Linked DNA regions of Homo sapiens: region 2 is linked to region 1. Evidence: promoter capture Hi-C in human tissues and cell types (Jung and others, 2019). All regions are on one chromosome and are shown on one strand. Each heading gives the region's core, a stretch centred on a gene start or on the middle of the fragment in contact. The rest is flanking DNA. Distances are from core to core; before and after follow the strand shown. Region 1 holds the start of BMP2 (bone morphogenetic protein 2). Region 2 has its middle 99 kb from the start of HAO1.

The links. The method cuts DNA at HindIII sites, captures the fragments that hold promoters and counts their contacts. A contact is called where the count stands out against the background at its distance.
Region 2: a contact is called between a fragment that was not itself captured here and the fragment with the promoter of BMP2 in region 1, in 1 of the 25 tissues and cell types used here (dorsolateral prefrontal cortex).

The regions. Positions count from the first base shown.
Region 1 is chr20:6,766,340-6,769,244 of GRCh38, reverse strand. BMP2 (bone morphogenetic protein 2) reads right to left here and starts at 1,559. Exons shown (of 3, transcript NM_001200.4): 1 at 370-1,559. LOC105372517 (a long non-coding RNA gene) reads left to right here and starts at 1,761. Exons shown (of 4, transcript XR_937229.2): 1 at 1,761-1,924; 2 at 2,440-2,845. RefSeq lists cis regulatory regions at 880-1,054, 1,695-1,794, 1,801-2,591, silencers at 1,426-1,475, 1,566-1,615 and promoters at 505-1,664, 1,054-1,695, 505-2,905. The HindIII fragment of the contact is 20,905 bases long and covers 1-2,905 here.
Region 2 is chr20:7,839,665-7,842,962 of GRCh38, reverse strand. No RefSeq gene overlaps it. Among named protein-coding and RNA genes, the nearest start is that of HAO1, 99 kb to the left of the region's middle. The HindIII fragment of the contact is 3,038 bases long and covers 501-3,298 here.

The DNA of each region.
Region 1 (2,905 bases), core at 310-2,809:
GTTCTCAGCTAACGGGTGAAACCCAGGGGCTACCCTCTCAAAGGGATTTCTTTGACCCAAAAAAGTTTTTAAAAAAATTAAAAATAAATAAATAAATAAATAAAACACCTCATCTAAGTGTTAACAGCTCCAAAAGTATTCCAGGGAGAGGGGAAGAAAGAGGGGTGGAAGAGTGCGGGCCGGGAGGGTGAGGCTTACGGTCGCCCGGGGCAGCTGGAAGTGGGAGCCCCTGCAGGGCTCCGTTGCACGTGGACTGGAGAGGGGTCTGTTTACTTCTGGCCTGGACGTAAGGAAGGGCTCTACCGCAGTGGCTGCCCAAATCCCCCTCCCACCCACCACCCACCCCGGGCCCTGGCCCGCGTCCTCTACCTTTAGGAGACCGCAGTCCGTCTAAGAAGCACGCGGGGACACGTCCATTGAAAGAGCGTCCACATGGAAAAACTCTGGTCAAAGGACCTGGCGCAAGGACCGAATGTCCGTTCCTTTTCTTTGCCTCCTCCTTCTCCCGGGTGCCGGCCGCGCAGTCTCTCTTTTCACGCTGGGAACAGCGTCTCAGTGTCGGGCAAGGCCGAGGAGTGGAGGGGCGGTGGGGCTCGGAGATGGCGAAGCAGGCTCCGCTGGGGCAAAGGCACCGGCGCAAAGTGGGGTGCGCAAGTTATTCTCCCTGCAAGTTCAAGAAGTCCCCAGCCAAGTGCTGACACACAACAACAGCGAGCAGGGGGAGGAGTGCGGGGCAGGGAAGGGAAGGGAGAAAGGAGAAGCTGGTGCTGTCGTCCTCCTTAGGAACCAGCGCCCGAGGGACGCGTGGCCCCGCGCGGGGCCGGCTCCGGGACTCGGGGGTCGAGGGTCGGGCGCTCCGCGCTAGCTCCGCCGCGGCCCATGGCTCGGGGCAGCCATCCTGGGCGACGCCGGGTCCAGGGAAGGGCACGGCGGCGATCTCGGTGCCAGGCGAGTTGCCCCCCCGCATCACTCTGCCTTACTCCAGTGCACCCCCATTCGCGCTCGCCAGTTGAAAGCACCGCGGCTCTGGCGCCCCGTCGTCCTCGGGCGCATTCTCCGGCGAGTCGAGCCGAGTCCCGGGCCGCCGAGGCGGGTGGCTGTGCTCTCCCCTCGCTCTCCTAGCCCTGGGGCCAAGTGCCCTTTGTGGCTAGCCTGGGGTCCGATCACACCTCGGCCAGCGCGTCCCAGGCCCCCGATCTCCTGCAGTAGGTGCTCCGCATCGCGGCGCTAGGGATCGGCTCCGGAGTCCCCGGCGCTCTGCGCGCCCGTCCGCGGCTCTGGCGCAGCCCGGGCAGCAGAGGCCACGGCGCTGTGGCGCGCTCTGCCGGGTGCTCCAGCCCGCGCGGGGTCTGCGGCGCGCGGGTGCCTCGCGGTCCCCGGTGATCCACTCGGCGCTGGCCCCGAGAACGTTCGGGTAGCCGGCGGAGGCTGTGGCGGCAGATGTGCGGCGGCGGCTGCCAGTCCCCGGCGGGGTGTGGGAAGCGGAGCGACTAGCGCAGCGCGAGCCGGGCGCAGCGCGGCGGGGCGAGGACTCCGGCGGCGGCGACGGCGGCGGCGGCGCCGTGGCGCGGCGCTCGCGGCTTTTAAAGGGGACGCCGCCTGCCGGCTCCCTCCCGGCCGCGGCCGAACACCTCCCCCTTCGCGGCGCGGCTCGCCGGGGATCCCCGAGCGGGCGGGAGCTGCGCGCAGGGGTGTGGACGGCGCGCCCGGGCAGCCGCGGCGGGGTGGGGCGGAGGGCGGGGGCGCGCGGCCGCCAAGGGGGGCGCTCGCGCCTCCACTCCCTGCTCTCAAAGGAGAGATCAGCTGGCGCGCCGGACCCTCGCGGGGACTCTGGAGGCGAAATCCAGGACAAATGCAGGGTCAGGGTCTGGCCTCTTATTTCCCCGCTGGGCCCGTTATTCAACTTTCAGTTTGAAGTTTTTCGGTAATATACGATTTCAAAAAACAAAACAAAACAAAACACCTCAATTACAGCGTATTTTGGCATAGCATAGACGTGGGATCCACGCTTCTGTTTCCCCGGAATAGGAGGAAAATTAAAAGAAAACAGCAGGCTGGAAATTGAGTGTTTTTAAACATTAATACATAGAGATGTATGTATTTACATATGTAAATGCATGTGTACAAATTTTTTTACATAAATGTGTATGCATTTATTTTCATATCCATACGCATGTAAATTTATAGTTACATAAATATATCCAATATACAAAAATATGTGCATATATTTCTATAAATATATTCATGTATGAGAATATATGCAACCGAAGGGCCACATTTCGGTTAATATGTCTATGTATGTGACATGGATGTCATCCTGCTTTACGTGACATGTGTGTAACGTAGACTGCGTGTGTGGCAGACTGAAGGATGGATGGGAGGGATTTGATTTTTTTATTGTACAATCACTTTGTGCCTTGTGATATTTATCTCACCCAGCTCAGAGGCAGGCGATTAGCAGCTCAGAGGAAGGTAAAATAACGCACTGTGTGAACCAAGCATACAGGACAATTCCAGTTTGGGACCTTGGAACCTTCTACGCCACCCTCTTCCACCAGGCCCCCAAGAAGTAGGGCTGTGACACGTGGCCAAGTCACTCCTCAGCTGAATATTCACTGAAGTCACTCCTCAGCCGAAATACTGCTCAGAGCTGCTGCACGATGAGTCTGGGGCCAAGGCTTTCTGCCCTTCCCAGGATTCCAGGAGCCCCCATGCACAGCACCTCGGGCTTGCCCAAATGATCCCCAAAACCAAGGGCAGAAAATTTTTGGAAAAGGCCAAGTTCTGCTTTCCCAGAGCTATCGGGCCTGCGAAACAGAGAGAAAAAAGTCAGAAGCAGGAGCTGGTAATAGAACTATTATCCATGTGTATTATTTTTTCGGTAGGGGAGCTAAAATAATACTAG
Region 2 (3,298 bases), core at 770-3,269, 1.1 Mb before region 1:
ACATGATTTGACAAAAAAGGTATGATCTAATGGTAATAAACTGGGGGAAAGAGGAGACCCTAGCAAGACCTGTTTGTTCAGATTCTTCCTGATCTCTCTGTGTAGCATTATTTCCCCCTGGATATGGGGCAGGACCCTCTGGAATGAGGGTCTTATGGCCTACTTTCAAGGGAGGTAAGTCAGAATGTGGCCTTTCTAAGTTTTATGGTTTGCTTTGGGGTAGAGGAGTTCTAATTTCTATGACCCACCTTTGGGAGAGGAATCTGGTTTCTATGACATGTCTTAGAAGACAGAAGAAAGAGGGAAAAGGTTGGAGATACCTTGTTGCAGAGGCCTTTCCTATCTCCTCCATTTCAAAGTACTCAGCATGCCAAGATGTCATACTTGGTAGTATTCTGCTCTAAGTCCCTACAGGGCAAGCTTTCAGAGTATGAACTTAGCTGTTAGAGTGGCTGTGGTTTAGGAGAAGTAGAGGGAAGGATGGAGTTTGCTAGAGGGGAAAATCATTCAGAAACTGGATGGAGAATAAAGACCTGTAGAGCTGGGGTGGGAGCTAGGTTGAGAGTGTACATAGACAAGCTTTGAGGGATAAACACAAAATATTGTAAGGACATCATGAGTGGCTGAGGAAATTCCATAAGCCATTTTTTTTAAAACCATGGCTTGAGCTATTGGATTTCTATAGGATGGTTTTTCTCTTCTACTCTGTGAGTATAGCCCAGCCTTCCATTCTTCTAATGCTCATTGGTTCTGTTACAGAGTCTGGGGATGGAAAAGGTTGCTTAGGTGTCAGCCAAGACACTCCCTCTGCTTGGGGGAGAGCAAGCTGCCAGCCCGACTATCCGCTTCCTGCCAGCTTAAGGAGCTTATGACTCAGATTCAAGCAAAACACTGAGCTGAAGCAAAAAGGGAGGGAGGGAACCTTAGCTCAGATGAAGGCTCTAGGGCCAAACTGCATCACTGAAACATCCAAGTCAGGGAAACCCATCAGACCAGGAGGCTATGTGATTTTGTGTTTGTCCTCTGCTTCGAAAACCACAAACATATGCTTACACACAACTCCATTTCTCTCCTACTCATACAGACATATTTCCCCCTGAGCTGAAATCCTGAGGCTGTTGCACCCTCCTGCAGGAAAAGCTACTCTTGGGAGCTGGTCTGAGTATTAGCCATCTCTCAGATTCTGTGATAGCAGAGAAGTCTTCACCAGATGTTATGATTCAGCTGGTGTGTCCAGTTGTCCCTCCTTGCCTTGTGTTGCCCGAGTTTCCATTTCTCACAGAAGGAGGTGTTGAGGGAAGACTACAGACTTATTCAGGAATAACACTGAAATCCAGACACATGTGTTTCAAAATCCTCTGTGATTCCAGTAGCTTCCTGGATATTGCTCTGGTGGCTGAGCTGCTGCCAATGTTGACTTGCTGGTCATTTGAAAGCCAAACTCTACCCCTGAGGAAAGGTACTGGATGAATTATAGAAATCTCTATTCTTTCTTTTCTTTCCTCCTTCCATTACTCATGTACATACCCACATCCCTCCAGCTCCTTCCAGTTGTCTCCTTGTGAGTAAACATTAGTCATTTTCTACAAGTTCCTTACCTCCATTCACTAAAGAGGAATGTGTAATCTCTTTGATTGAAGTTGAAAGTACTGACCTATGTACTTTTGTGTTAAGTATAGTTTATAGTTAATACTACACACATACTCCTTCATGTATGATTGTATTTAATATACATAATCTTCCTAAAATTCAACTTTGGTCTATGTCTTTATTTTTTGAGAAATCCTAAAAACTCTCAGTCAACTGCCTGGGGCCAGATTCCTTAATGCCATTTGGAAATCTTTATGATCTGGACATGACTTAAGCTTCTAGTCTCACCTCACTTAGCATCACTCCTTAAACTGCCTGAGGCTGGTCTCCTTAATCCCCCAACCCAATTTAATTGCCCCTCTCTTTGAAATGCCTTCTTCTAACATCTGTCTAATCCCAAATATTTTTAAAACCCAAGCCCACGTCAGTTCATTATCTTTGTTGAGGCAAATTGAAGGAGAGGGAAGAGGATAAGAATAAGAAGAAATAAGAGAGAACAGAGATAAAGAATAAATAAATGTGTTGAAGCTTAAGGGGAAAGAAGCCCGGTTATGATGTGTGGTTTCCTTGGGAAAGTCTGGCATTATTATACGAAGTTCATTATAGACAGCCCCTTCTTCCTGCCAACACTTCAAGAAGCTCAGAATACAGATTTATCAGTGCACCAAGAGCTGCTAATCCCAGTCAGAAAAATCTATTATTTTTATTCGAGGGAAATCATATTTTCCATGCTTAACAGTGACAGATATGTGGGATGTCAAATTAGAATCAGATGGTAGTTTAGTGGGCATGGATACCATGAAAGTGGAATTAGTTGGAAGAACTAAATTCCAGTTACAATTTAGCCTGATAGTTATATCTCTTTCATCCTTGAGGACTCTTCAATAGGGGTACCAGTGGATCTAAATTGTGCTAGACAGGTTCTCAAGGTTATATCTCTATGCTTCCAAGGCTGATCAATGCTGTTTCTATCAAATGCATTTCTTTCTCAAGTATGCTAACACTGTCCCTCTGGGAACTATCCAGGCTTAGATGGAGAGTCTCCTGCCTCTTTAAGGTATGTATCTCTACTCTAATCCATTACCTGGGAGCTTCACTGTTTAATAATATTACCAGTTATGCCCCATAGTTGGTTCCAGTGAGGCTCTAATACTAATTAGTTTTATATAGTACTTTGTCTCTAGTAGTTTCTCAGTAAATATCTGTTGACTAATAATTTGTTTACCACATTTGTAGGCTATTGTATATTCCCTTGTCTAGAAAAGGCCAGGAGTATAATTAATAATTCAGAGTTACTGGCTGAAATTTTCCAAAAAGCTTCAGATCAAGAATGAGATCATTGGAGAAGGGGAAATGGGTAAGGCACACAATATAATTTTGCTTTAAAATACAATTAAATGGCCGGGCGCGGTAGCTCATGCCTGTAATCCCAGCACTTTGGGAGGCCGAGGCGGGCGGATCACGAGGTCAGGAGATCAAGACCATCCTGGCTAACATGGTGAAACCCCGTCCCTACTAAACAAAATACAAAGAATTAGCTGGGAGTGGTGGCGGGTGCCTGTAGTCCCAGCTACTTGGGAGGCTGAGGCAGGAGAATGGCATGAACCCGGGAGGCAGAGCTTGCAGTGAGCCGAGATGGTGCCACTGCACTGCAGCCTGGGCGACAGAGCGAGACTCCGTCTCAAAAAAAAAAAAAAAAAAAATACAA